2 separate regions of the Homo sapiens genome follow, and region 1 is linked to region 2. The links are contacts of gene promoters, found by promoter capture Hi-C in blood cells and fetal thymus (Javierre and others, 2016). All regions are on one chromosome and are shown on one strand. Each heading gives the region's core, a stretch centred on a gene start or on the middle of the fragment in contact. The rest is flanking DNA. Distances are from core to core; before and after follow the strand shown. Region 1 overlaps PPFIA4 (PPFI scaffold protein A4). Region 2 holds the start of CHI3L1 (chitinase 3 like 1).

What was found. The method cuts DNA at HindIII sites, captures the fragments that hold promoters and counts their contacts. A CHiCAGO score of 5 or more calls a contact.
Region 1: a fragment that was not itself captured here is called in contact with the fragment with the promoter of CHI3L1 in region 2 in 7 of 17 cell types (M0 macrophages, M1 macrophages, M2 macrophages and 4 more); the score reaches 10.1 in M0 macrophages.

What each region holds. Positions count from the first base shown.
Region 1 is chr1:203,039,197-203,045,336 of GRCh38, forward strand. It overlaps PPFIA4 (PPFI scaffold protein A4), which reads left to right. Exons shown (of 30, transcript NM_001304331.2): 2 at 1-46; 3 at 4,201-4,302; 4 at 4,735-4,899; 5 at 5,183-5,257; 6 at 5,500-5,589. Among named protein-coding and RNA genes, the nearest start is that of PPFIA4, 16 kb to the left of the region's middle. RefSeq lists enhancers at 58-217, 1,899-2,400, 2,401-2,900, 5,619-6,140 and a silencer at 5,345-5,639. The HindIII fragment of the contact is 5,958 bases long and covers 1,692-6,140 here.
Region 2 is chr1:203,185,432-203,192,349 of GRCh38, forward strand. It overlaps CHI3L1 (chitinase 3 like 1), which reads right to left and starts at 1,273. Exons shown (of 10, transcript NM_001276.4): 1 at 1,168-1,273; 2 at 885-914. The coding sequence starts at 1,192. The HindIII fragment of the contact is 7,916 bases long and covers 1-4,109 here.

The DNA of each region.
Region 1 (6,140 bases), core at 3,421-5,920, 140 kb before region 2:
CGAGCGGGACCAGCTCCAGCGCCACCTTAACTCCGCCCTCCCCCAGGTAAGGCCCGAAGGCCTGCGTCTCTCTTAACCCCTTTCCCTCCTCTAGCCCTGCTAGATCCACTGGGCCCTCAGCTCATCTGCATCTATTTGCATATCAATAATTGGAATTCACTGAGCATTTACTCTCCTTCATCTCTCTACGTGAATTCTTTCCCTGTCACTCCCATGCTCCTCAGTCTGGAAGGTGAAATGGATGGAATTTGATGTGGGTAGAAAAACGCAGCCATAGGTGTCAGCTACAGTGAGCTCAGGCGGCCAGTAGGTGGCACCCTAGACTGGAAAGAAACCTCCTCCCTGCGTACTCCTCTCCAGTGCCCTATTCTTGGAGGTGGGTGGGGAATCACAGACAGTAGAGATGGGTGAGTTCTTAGAGATCATCTCGTCCAGCTCCGTTATTGCATAGATCAAAAAAGCAAGAGACATCACATGGAAGATGATAGGCAGGGCTGAATCTAGCAGCCAGATGTCTCGACATCCTGTCTCACACTCAACAGCACAACCACCAGCTGTCCTGTAGTCCCGTGTACTGTGTCCTTTCTGTGGACCAAGCACTTTATAAGGATTCTCTCACTAAACTCTTACAACCCTGAAGTTGGTGCTGTTACCACCATCATCCCATTGTACAAATCACGGAACTAAAGCTGGGGAGATGAGTAAGTTGCTCGTGGCCATGCAGGTAGTGTGTGGTGGAGGCAGGAACTGAGCCTGGGGCTAAGTTTCTCACCACTGCACCTATTTCTCCCTCACTGCATTGGCCTGGGAGCTCCCTGCTGATGCCTGCTTATCACCCACTTGGTAGATATTCCAGGCATGGCGCATGCTCTGGGAATGCAGGAGGGAGCAGGAGCCTGGATGATTTGGTTCTTGGGCTGTTTAGCTGCTGCTTGTCAAAGAAGCTGTGAACTCTGCCTGATAACCAGACCCAGAGAGGGCTGGGGGTTGTGTGTCTGTGAGACAGTGCTCACAGTGACTGTGGGAACATCCTGCCCTCTCTGCCCCTCGTATGAGCAGAGAGATGGGTATTGAAAGCCAGCTGTGGACACATGGCATAGCCTACCCTGACCCAGTGGGGGCGCTGCTGGGGTTGGGAAGGCAGCCCTGAGGAGCCGAAGAGCTCAAGCCTCAGCGCCAGGCCCTTCCCAGTGTGTGGGGAAGAGAACAAGGGCTGGGCCTGAGTGGGTGAGTTTCCTACACAAAAGTGATGCTTGGTGGACAAGAATACAGAGCCCTGGTGAAGCAGTTGGGTGGGCAGGTGGGGACCTCCTCTTTCACTGTGCACGAGGCTCTGAAGTTGCCCTAGAGTGAATGAACTAGTTCCTGCCACCAAGGAGCTCATAGACTAGGAAGGAGATACACCACCCATGTGACCGGAGAGAATGCAGAGGAAGATAAGAGAGGCCCAAAAGGGTTATTAAGCACAGTATCAGTGATAAAAATAGCTGCTTTTGATGGGCTTGGGCTAAGTGCTTTCTATACATTGGCTCATTTGACTCTCATACCAGCACCTGGAGGGAGGACTGTTACGTCTGTCTTACAGATCAGAGAATGAGGCTCAGAGAGATTAGGTAACTTATTCAAGATCATACAGCTAACAGGGGCAGAGCTGAGATTTGATCCCAGGCCTACTTGACTTCCCACACTGAAGCTTCATGAGGTCAGGGGTTGTGTCTTTCTTGTCACTATATCCCCAGTGATCTGCACAGGACCTGGTACATGATAGGTGCTCACAAATATTTGTGGTTGAATGATGGACTCCCAAGTTGGTGTTCTTGACCACTCCTCCAAATGGCTTTCAGGAGAGGGAGAGAGCCTCCCCGTGGGGAGTCTGGACAGCTCCCAGCAAGGCTGTATCCTTTGAGATGGGCTTTGAAGGATGATTATGATTTCATCGGGTGGTGACAGAGGTTTTTCCAGGGGGAGGGAGTCCACTGAGCCAAGATGTGATATTAGGAAGGCATGCTGGTGTTTAGAAGCAGCAGGTGATCCAGGTTGACTGGGTCTTAGGTGATATGGAAATGACATGAGAGAGAAGTTTGAAAACCAGGATAAGAAGTTTGTATTTGTAGGCTGGGTGCAGTGCCTCACTCCTGTAATCCCAGCACTTCAGGAGGCTGAGGTGGATGGACTGCTTGAGGTCAGAAGTTCAAGATCAGCCTGGGCAATGTGGCAAAACCTCATCTCTACAAAAATCCCCAAAATTAGCTGGGCATGGTGGCAAATGCCTATGCTGCCAGCTACTCGTGGGGCTGAGGTGGGAGGATCGCCTGAGCCCAGGAGGTCCAGGCTGCAGTGAGTTGAAATTGAGTCACTGCACTCCAGCCTGGGTGACAGAGGAGACCGTCTCCTGTGTTTGTAGACAGCATTGTGCTTTGGGAGATTTGTAGACAGCAGGGTGTCAGATAGGTTAGAGGTGGAAGGGAGGGGACAGGTATCCTGTGGTGGGGGGAGATAAGACAGCTGCTGAGCTTGAGGCCAGGAGAGGGGGCAGCACCAGCCTTTTGGTGGTGGTGTCATGGTGTAGGGCTGGGTGGCAGGCTGTCAAGCCCTGTCTCTGGTTACAAGCATGTGTACATGACTGTGTGTGCCTGTGAAAGTGTGACTGTGTTTGTGCATAAGCTGAGGGGTGAGACAGCATCAGGCCTGGGCTTCTGGAGTATGAGATGCTTGACCTTGACCACCTTTGGCCATGGCCCTGACAGAAAGGCAGTAATTGAGTAATAATGTCAGAGGTTCATGGTTTCTCATGCTCTGGCATCTCTTGTCCCTTCTGCCCTCCCACAACCCTTCTAGCCCCTTTTGCCCTATCTGGAGTGATGAGAGGGGATTGGGAGTTCTTCCTTTGGTCATGAATCCTTGGTGTGTGAGGGAGGCTGCAGGTTAGGACAGGGATGAGGCCTGTTGCATCGCTCTTAGACCTTGGACATCCACAGAGTTGGGGCCACTCATTTGAAAACCTCCCTGGAAGGAGGTGATGTTTAGCTAAACAGGATATGATGAGCCTGGAATGTGGGAGCAGTCTCTCACCCCTGTATGCTTGTCCTGATGGGGGAGGGTGGGCTGGCAAGGTCTCTGAAGTTATCTGGGCCTGACAGTGTGGAAATGGGCCCCTCTAGAAGTGATACTTGGTACATGGATATTTGGTAAAGCCAGGGCAACTGCCTTGGCATCAGGAGCTGGGATGTAGCCCTTGCTTGGTTGAGCAGGGCTCCTAGAAAGCCTGACTGGGCAGGTCTGCATACTCTCTTGCTCCTATGTAGGTAGGTCCTTTGATCTGCTTATTTCACCCGCTACTTGCAGTTTGCAAAGCCTTGGGATGGGGCTGGAAGAGCTCCCTGGGGCACTCATGCAGGCATTATCTTCAAAAGCTCTTTCTCTTCCCTGTTTCTTTTATTTATTTATTTTTATTTTTCGAGACGGAGGCTCACCCTGTCGCCCAGGCTGGAGTGCAGTGGTGCCACCTCAGCTCACTGCAACCTCCGCCTCCCGGGTTCAAGTGATTCTCCTGCCTCAGCCTCTGGAGTAGCTGGAATTACCCAGGTGTGCGCCACCACGTCTGACTAATTTTTGTATTTTTAGTCGAGACAGGGTTTCACCATGTTGGCCAGACTGGTCTCAAACTCCTGACCTCAGGTGATCTGCCCGGCTCAGCCTCCCAAAGTGTTGGGATTACAGGCGTGAGTCACTGTGCTGGGCCTTCTCTTCCCTCTTTCATATCCATCAGTTTCTGTTTGGACCTTAATCCACCAAACCAGAAGCAGAATTCCCCTCCATCAGTTTCTAAAGGAAAATGTCATTGAATTCCTGGAGAAATGGAAATGCCAGGTGGGAGGGAGGATGTAATCTGGTCATATTGGTGGCTGGATGGGGAAGGGTCTGCAGAGCAGACTCAGTGACTTTCTCACTCTTGTGTACAACTCTGTTCCCTTGGATTCTAACACATGGAATGCATGGAGGACCCAGAGATGTGGACCCCTCTGGAGAAGCACATGCTAGCTACAGGTTTACTGACCTGCAGTGTGGATGGATTGGGATTTTGTGGGGGAGGTGGTGGAAGTAAGGGATGGGTGAGAGGATCCCACCACTGACTTGCATGTGCAGGACACTGCTTTGGGGGTGAATCCTGAAGCACTGAGGGGCCTTGGGGGTTTTCAGGAATTTGCCACCTTAACCCGGGAGCTGAGCATGTGTCGGGAGCAGCTTCTAGAGCGGGAGGAAGAGATATCAGAACTGAAAGCAGAACGGAATAACACACGGGTAAGTGGGGATGACCTTGTGTCGCGCGCGCGCACGTGTGTGTGTGTGTGTATGGGGGTGTGTTGTGAACACCTTGACCAAGAGAGCAGGCAAGAGTGGGGCCAGGCACAGTCCTAGCTCAAGCCCCATCCTTCCCTCTTCCTGTCTCCCATCCTGGGGTGAGAGTTACATCGTTTAACCACCAGTGCTGGGCTCTCCACCTGTAGTTGCTGGTTCACAGAAAGCTCAGGGTCCTGGGGAGAGGCCGGGGCAGTCACCTTGAGTAGTATCAGTTGGGGCGGGAGCTCTGTGCCCATTTGGAAGTATTTCAGTGTTTTCACAGTGGGGTGGCTGTAACTCATGTCTGCTCGGGGATCACATGGACCCTGCTTGTAGCCCCTGGGGCACATGCTTACAGCCCTCCCTCTCACCCTCCCCTGCTCTCCCTGCCAGCTGCTTCTGGAACATCTGGAGTGCCTGGTGTCCCGCCATGAACGGTCACTGCGGATGACTGTGGTGAAGCGCCAGGCCCAGTCACCTTCGGGGGTCTCCAGTGAGGTGGAGGTGCTGAAGGCCCTCAAGTCACTGTTTGAGCACCACAAGGCCCTGGATGAGAAGGTGCCCACCTGCCCGCCAGCCCCCACATCCAGCCAGGCTGCCCTGGAGCCTCCCATGTATCCCTTCTCTGAGATTTCCACATCCGGTATTTAGGGAGCACTGGCTCCCTCCAAACATTGTCTTAACTTCAAGGTCCTCCTGTTAGGCTCCCTCCTGCAAATGTGCTGCTTAGTAGGCCCTTCACTGTCCTCATGCTCAGTGGTGGTAGACCAAGCCCAGTCTCTTCCAGCCTGACTCAAGTGGGGTCCCCCTTTCTTCCTCCATCTCCCCTTACCTCGAGCAGGTGCGAGAGCGGCTCCGGGCAGCGCTGGAGCGAGTCACCACCTTGGAGGAGCAGCTGGCAGGTGCCCACCAGCAGGTAATCTGCCTGCTCACCCTCAGTCTGCAGCTCCTGGAAGTCCAGGCTGGTTCACCCCTGTGCCCTACTCTGTTTCTTGTCAGATTTCTCCCTGCCATGGCTGGAAGCTGCTAGGCAAGGCTAGGCTGAGCACCTCTTTCTAGGAGACATTTTTTAACTAAGACAGGGGCTTTGGAAGGGTCTGGAATGTATGGGAGGTTCTCTTCTCTTTGACTCATTGCCCTGGGGCTTGTGCCCTACAGGTGTCTGCCCTGCAGCAGGGGGCAGGGGTGCGGGATGGAGCGGCAGAAGAGGAGGGGACTGTGGAGCTGGGGCCGAAACGCCTGTGGAAGGTAGGTCATGGAGAGCTGTGTAGCAGGGGTCATGTGTTCCCCAAGGTGGGAGGTTGGAGGCCCGGCTCTGCCTTAGTTCAGTAGACTAACTGCTTGAATTAAATTTGAGGCTTTCTCTGATATTCCCCCTTCTCTTTTCTTCTTCTCCCTACCCCATCTGCAATGAAATCTGTAGATTTTTATTTTAGTGCCCAACACATGCTGGGCACATCATACGCTTGTCTGCTTGAATTGTTAGGCACCATCTGCCTCATGTGGCAGCATCAGGCAAGATTCCTTCTCTGTCTGAACCTTTGTTCCCCCAGTCACGCCCCTTTCTGGGTTACAAGAGGCTGGCATAGCAGATAAAACTAGAAACTTGTTTTCAAGAGAGACAAAGGATAGCAAGGTGTTTGGTCATTGTCAGGAGTGACCTCCTGGGGCCCAGAGGGAGGCAGTTGTAGCCAGAGGAGTGCTGTGATGTTGGGGGCAGAGCCTTGACCTGCTCTGGGTGTGCTGTTCCTCCTTCCACCCCTGGGATAGGGGAGTGGGGTGGGTGGGATGCTGCTGTG
Region 2 (6,918 bases), core at 23-2,522:
GACCTCAGGCTGAGCCCAGAGCTGAGCACCAATGGGGTGTGGGGTTGGGTAGGGAGGAGTGGGGTGCAGATTGTGAGCAAAGTCAGAATTCTTAAATGAAAGGAGCTGGTTCAGGTCCCCCTGCCTCTGGGGAGTTCCCTGACTGGTGAAAATAAGGCCTATTCTGAAAATGCTTAGAAAAGATCCAATGCAGGGGATGAATACGCTACAGGCACTGTGTGGGGGAAGGGTAGGAGCTGGGGAATAAGGATGAAATGGGACTTGGTGCCAGCACAGCAGGCTTCCTGGAAGCAGTGGCTTTGTGGGAGGGGAAGGCCCAAGATAGCCTGTGTCACAGATGGCCCTGGCTTTCAGGCTGGCACCTTTAGTGACCTGCAGTGAGGTCCTTCATCCATGAGGGACTCTGGCCCACCTTTCTCTGCCTCCTGGTGAGAGTGCCTCTAACTTGTAACCCACCCGGAATGGCAGTCCTGTGCTCCCTCGGCATGTCCCCCAGGCTGGGGCACAATATCACAATGGACCAGGAAATCCTTCCTCGCCTCTAATTCTGTTTCTCCTGCTGCAAACAATGTGGGCATCACTCATCCAAGCAGCTACTGGGCAACTGTACTAGCGGCTCCCAGGGGCTGTTAGTCAAAGCCTTCACTGAACCAGGACCTTTTAAAGTTTCTTATTTTGAGAATTTTCACATATACCAAAGAGTATAGCAAAATAAACATCCATATACTCCTCACTCCAGTTTAGCAAACGTGACTATTTCGAAGTCATTGGAAGCACAGAAGAACCTGGCAAAGTGTTCCCTTGGAGCTAAGACCTCCTCCACACCTGCCCTGTGCCCTCGCCACGCCTCTGGACTTAAAAGTGGAGGTGGAGGGATTACTCACAGCACTGGAGCAGCACCAGGACCACAAAGCCTGAAGAGAAATCCAGGATGAGACCCCTGCAAGTGCATCCTGCCCTTCCGCCCTGCTCCCTCCCCCAAGCAACTGAGACCCACCTCCCCCACCCCCACCTCCTGGTTGCAGCCTCAGTCCCTCCCCTGGCTCTGCTTCTCCTCCCCCTCTGCCCACTCCCTTAGTCCCTCACCCAGCAGGCAGATGGCTCTGCGGGCTGTCTGGGCCTGAAAACCCACAACTCTGATGGATTAACCTTGGCTAGCCCAGATACCTGTTTGAGACGCCTTCACACCCATTCTGGCTGCAGCAGAGCAGGGCAGGGTGTGGCCTCTTCCCTTGCCCACGGCTCCTGGTGCCAGCTACCTAGACAGGGCCTCTTCCCCAGGCCCTGTACTTCCTTTATATACCTGTCCCACTCCACTCCCCGACGCGGCAAACCAGCCCTTTTATGGGAACTGAGCTATGTGTCAATGAAGGAATCACGAGGCTGGCAAGTGGAGGCGGGGGAGTACTATGGATTACCAGAGGAGGGTTGAGAAACCGCAGAGTTTTGAAAACTTTGGGTCAGGTCTTCATGAGGCACCTGCCAGCAGAAGAGCCACTAGGGTGATGATGGGGGGCTTCTGGAGATGTGACTCAGCCGCATTTCCCAGCCTTCCTCCCACTCCTGCACCCCACCACTGGCCTTTCTTGCCAGCAATTTCCTGGCTTTTCTGGCAGCCTCTACCTTTGCATCTTCAGCATTCACTCCAGGCCCCTGGCCAGGTGGAAACTGGGCACAATTTAGTTACGTAAGCCACAGTGCCCTAAACAAGGCTGTTGTTTTCTTCCCAGGCTCAGCATTGCCCTGCTTGACCTACCTTCCTACCCTCCCCCTCACACTTTCTGTCTTCAGGCTGGGTAAGGGCCAGAGAGCCTCGGGAGGAAGGAAAGCAAAGAGCCTGAAACTGAGCGCTCCCTTTTGGGCCCGTGTCTTTTTTTTTTTTTTTTTTTTTTTTTTTGCAATTTACATGCTGATTATTTAGAGGGAAAGACAGGGAAATTCCCAAGAATGCTTTAAGCCCCGGTGCTATTTTGCTTCTGTTTTGAAATTCCCATAAAGAGAGAGGATCTTTTGCAAGCTCGGTGCTGCAGTGAGGCACCATGGAGGAAATACAGGCCCTACGGGGCGGCTGCACGAGCATCTGACATCAGTCAGCTCCCCAACTCTCTCAGTGAGGCTTTGGAACCCAAGCCTGATGATACAGCCCCTCTCTAAATCCTTCAGTGATCTCTCATCACTCCTAGGACAAGAACAAAACTTCTTAACGAGGCTCCCTGCCTGATTACGTCCCTGTTTGTGGATACATTTTTTTTTTGGCCAAATATCCAGGACAACTCCATTCTTTGCAGGCTTAACATTAATTAATAGGCAGTGAGTGAAAAGTTCAGAACTCCAAGAGGCAGAATGGGTCCAAGGGCTTCTCAAGAAAGTACCTTTATTTTTCACTAATGTTAGGTAATACTCTAATTTTTCCAGGCTGGTTTTGCAGCTCTCTCGGTGAGGTCTCTCTGCTCTCTCCCTCTTCTCTCCCTCTCTCCCTTTCTCTTCCTTTAAAACTCAGCCAGTGCCTTCCCTTCATTGTAAGAGAGGTGGACAAAAAGTGGCTTGTCCAGAATCACGCTCGGTGAATACTAAAGAGGCATCACTTTTCCTTTTTAAGATGACTGCCTCCTTTTGTACCCAAGATGATTGACAGCAATGACAGTCAATGATAGCTTCTTCTGGTTCATTTGGGGCACTGAGAGGAGGACTTCTAATTTCTAATAGTGATATTATGAAGTGGCATGCAGATGCAAAATTTTTCATCACAGAGCACAGGATGTTAAGAAAACACCTCCTATTTTCACTATCTCCCTTTGTTAAAAATTATTTCATAGGCTTAGATTGGCCCAAGCCTTGTTGTCCTATGCTCCCTCAAGCTCAGTTTATTAATTCCACATGCTCTGCCTGAAGGCAGCTTTGTAACAACAAATGGCCAAGATACCCCCAGGCCTGTGTTAGCAGGATTGGCCAAGGGTCTCATAGGCTCACCACCTCCCAGCCTTATCTCAGGCCATGACCCCCACCCTCCCTATATTCCACTCATGCTTATATGTCTTCTTTTAAATCCTTATATTTGCTCTACTGACTCCCGCCACAGGGCCTTTATATATGACATCCACTTGCCTGTAAATAACGATGAAAGATCTGAGATTTTATGCTACTTGCAAATTAATGACATAACTACAGTTTCGTGGATGTTGGCAGAAGACACGAGACTCCTAGGTCAGAGACAAAGGACTTTATTATCCATGGTACAGCAAGCAGCATGAACTTCATGTTAGGGTCAGTTCCCCTTAGCCCTCAGGTCTCACAAGGGCAGTGTTGGAGGAGCCCAGGTAGATGCCATGAATGCAATGAGTTACATCACAGCAGAGGAATCCCTAGTTTAAGGAACTCAAATCTTTCATGATGAGCAGTAAGCCTTCCTCACCTTGGCCAGCCCAAGATAAGGGAGACATTATCTTTATTACTGGACAGTAAACAAATCTGCCTTTTGGTCTGGAGGGGGGACGCTATTTCTATCTTCCAAGGCTGTTTGCTGTACAAACATCACTAAAAAGATTGCCTAGAACAAAGAAGCCAGTGCCTCTGCACATAAGCTGTGCAGGAAATGCAGGCAACCCATGGAGAATTGCGGTTGGAGAATTGCGGATGGAGAATTGCAGCCTAACACTGCTCTTCTTTGACTGCTTTATTCTTCCTCATCCTTCAGATTGCAGCTCAGGAGTCACCTTGTCTGCAGAAAAGGCAGTCTCCAGGTGACAGAAAACCCGCTATAGGGCTGTCAGAGCACTTTGTACCTCTCTCCTTAACACCTGACTCAGTTATAATTTTATATGTTGTGTGTGGCAGTGGATGTTTTGTTTGCCTCTCTCACTAGACTATAAACTCAGTAAAGGCAACGGCTGGGTCATTTTATCCACCTTTGTATCTATCCCCAGTGCTTGAGACATAGTAGATGCTCAGTAAAGTACTCGTTGAATAAATGAACAAATGATCTCAAAATGGTGCATAACTTCACACTCTTATGAGTTTAAACCCTGATGTTCTCAAAATTTCATCTCATTCAATAGTTTTTGTTACCCTGTGAAGAACTGACTCAGGAGGTGCCATAAAACCACAAAACAAGCTTCCTGACTTAATTTCCCTAATCAAACATTTCTAGGCCCCACAGTACATTGATAGTGTTCAACCAATGTTTATTAAGTAAGTGTACTAGAGTAGTTGCCTTCCACTGAGGTAGACAGTAGAGACAGAAAGGTGAATGGGAACAGAGAGGCAGTCCCTGTCCTCATGAAGCATACAGTCTGGCAAAGAAGATGGACATTAAACAAAGAAAAGCAAGTAATGTATTACGAAGGAAGGGCAGGTGTTAGTCTGCCCCTTGCCCACCGTCCCCTACACACAAAAAAAATTGTGCAAAAACCTGGAGCAGGAAGAGGTTGTTATGTTCAGGAACCAGAAGAATTCAAGAGTGGTTGAGGCATGGAATTAGCAGGAGGGAGCTCGAGGGAGGCACAAGATGAGTCTGGATCAGGAGCCAGAGGGTGGACATTACCACCATTCAGAAAACAAGCTCCTGGGAGCCTGGGCTGGCCCCTTGGGCACAGTGGTTTTGAGGATTCCTTCATTTTGCATGGCGTGTCAGAGCAAACAGAGGTGGTGTTGATGCCCCACCAAATGCTTGAGGAGAATTCTCTCTTTTACAAGTAGTCTCTTCCTCCAGAGGGTGGACTTCTGCCAGGCAGGAATTCAAATCATCTCCAAATCCTCAGCTCGGTGGTGGTGCTGGCGCACAGTAGAAGCTGTCGAAGACTCAGAGGCAGAAACACTTAGAGAAGAAAACAGTTGCTTGTGAAAAGCGGAAGCGAGTCAGATTTCAGAATGGCTGGCTCGTCAAATGCAAAATGCAACAAGTATTTGAAGGGGAAAAAAAAATGACCCAAGGTTATCACGTTTGGTGGAGATCAGCATCATTTTTACAACACATCTTCACTTATCAGCATAGCAAAAATCAGGGATGAAATTGTTTTTTTCGGGGAATTTTTTTTCTTTTTGAGACAGAGTCTCACTCTGTCACCCAGGCTGGAGTGCAGTGGCGTGATCTGGGCTCACTGCAGCTTCGACCTTCTGGGCTCAAGCCATCCTCCTGCCTCAGCCTCCCAAAGTGTTGGGATCAATGGCGTGTGCAACCACACCCAGCTGGGAATCCAAATTTATGGGAAATAGCCAAGGCTTATTATTTTGGTGTCTTAAACCACTCAGGATAACCTATTATTCTTGGCTTATCTCCAGATGCAAATTATTCCCATCCCCACCCCGCAGTGGTACTTGGTCATGAATGAAGCCAGTAGAGTGAAGAGTTGGGCTTTGCGTCTACGGATTTTCCTTCCTTGTGGGCAAGTCCTTGCCATTGAGGCATGGGTTGAACCGTATATGTTGCTTAATAACTTCCTGATGCAGCATCATCAAATTGATATTTTGTTTTATTTGACCAAAATTTATTTCTATTGACATAACAGGAGGTGTTGATGAAATAAATACTTTCTTTTTGTATGGCTAGCGAAACCAGAGCCACATGATAGTGATGCTTTACAGTGAGCTTCTGTCTGGAGGCTTTGTAAAGCCCCTAGGGCTGGGAAGAAATTACTTTTATGTGTGAAGTATTATATCAGCACCATTTTCTCTAAGATTCCCATATGTGTTAATATTCCTAGACTGCCAGGAAATGTAGGTTTTATTTATTTATTTATTTATTTATTTATTTATTTATTTTACTACCTCTAAGGCTGCAATGTCATCAGTTCTAAAGCCATACCAGAGTTTTCTAGAGGACTTCATAGGTGTCATTTCCACATGTAAAATGTAGTCTTTATTCCTTAATAGTGGCTTATCATATAACAAAAATTCTTTGCTTGGCCAAATTTCAGGCGGGCTTCTGAATCTTCTCCTAGGCCCATCTGTGCACTTCCTTGTAAAATCCAGTTTTAGCAAAGAGCCCTGCTAAGTCAATTTAGCAAGAACCCCCTACCCTCAACATCTGAATACCTTGACATCTGACCAGGTTCCTTGTCCTTTATCATGCCCCAGGGGATGTCTGACCACCCTGGCCTGTCTGCAGCAAGAATCCTGTTAAGTCTGTTTAGCCAGAATCCCCCTTACTCCTGTTTCCTCTTAGTAACTTCTGTCTACAGACCCCCTGGTCCTTAGCTACTGATTTCCACTTGCCCATGCTGTATTTAGAGTTGAGCCCAATCTCTCCCCCCAACTGCAAGACCCCATTGCCCTGGTTCCTGTACCTGTCATAATGATCTTGGATAAAGACATCCTTACATACTTCAACAAGTGGCATTGGATAATTTTTTTCTTTAACACATACCTAATTAAATGGAATTTTGGCATGGTCAGTATCCAATTATTTTCTGGTAAGAAAAAGGACAGATTCTCATTGGATCTATATAAATAACATGATCATAAACATTCATTCTATCTAGAAGTGAATAAGCTATATTAATTTGGTTCCAATTTTCCCCCTCAAATGTATAACATAGGATATTTGATCATAAAAAGTAAAGGAACTTGTAAAAGCATGGGTAAGAGGAGAAAACATAAACTGTGCTTGTTCTGTTCTCTCACTCAACACAATGACCACCATCAACACAGGAGACTTCTGCCACCAAATGTGTGGGTCTCTCCCCATCACCAAGCAAGCATTTGCAATGGACACCAGCTGGGTGTCCTCCAGTTCAATTCTGATGCTCTCGGCCTGCAGAGAGCATCAGATCCCACAGGTTGAGGGCTCATTCCTACAAGACTGCCGCCCCTTCAGGCATCAACCACAAGTCTGGGCCTCTGGAACTTTTGACTGACCAGCTTCAAGTTGGGGTTCCCACATTCACCTCTTTAGGTTTAATTTGTTAGAGAGGTTCACAGAAC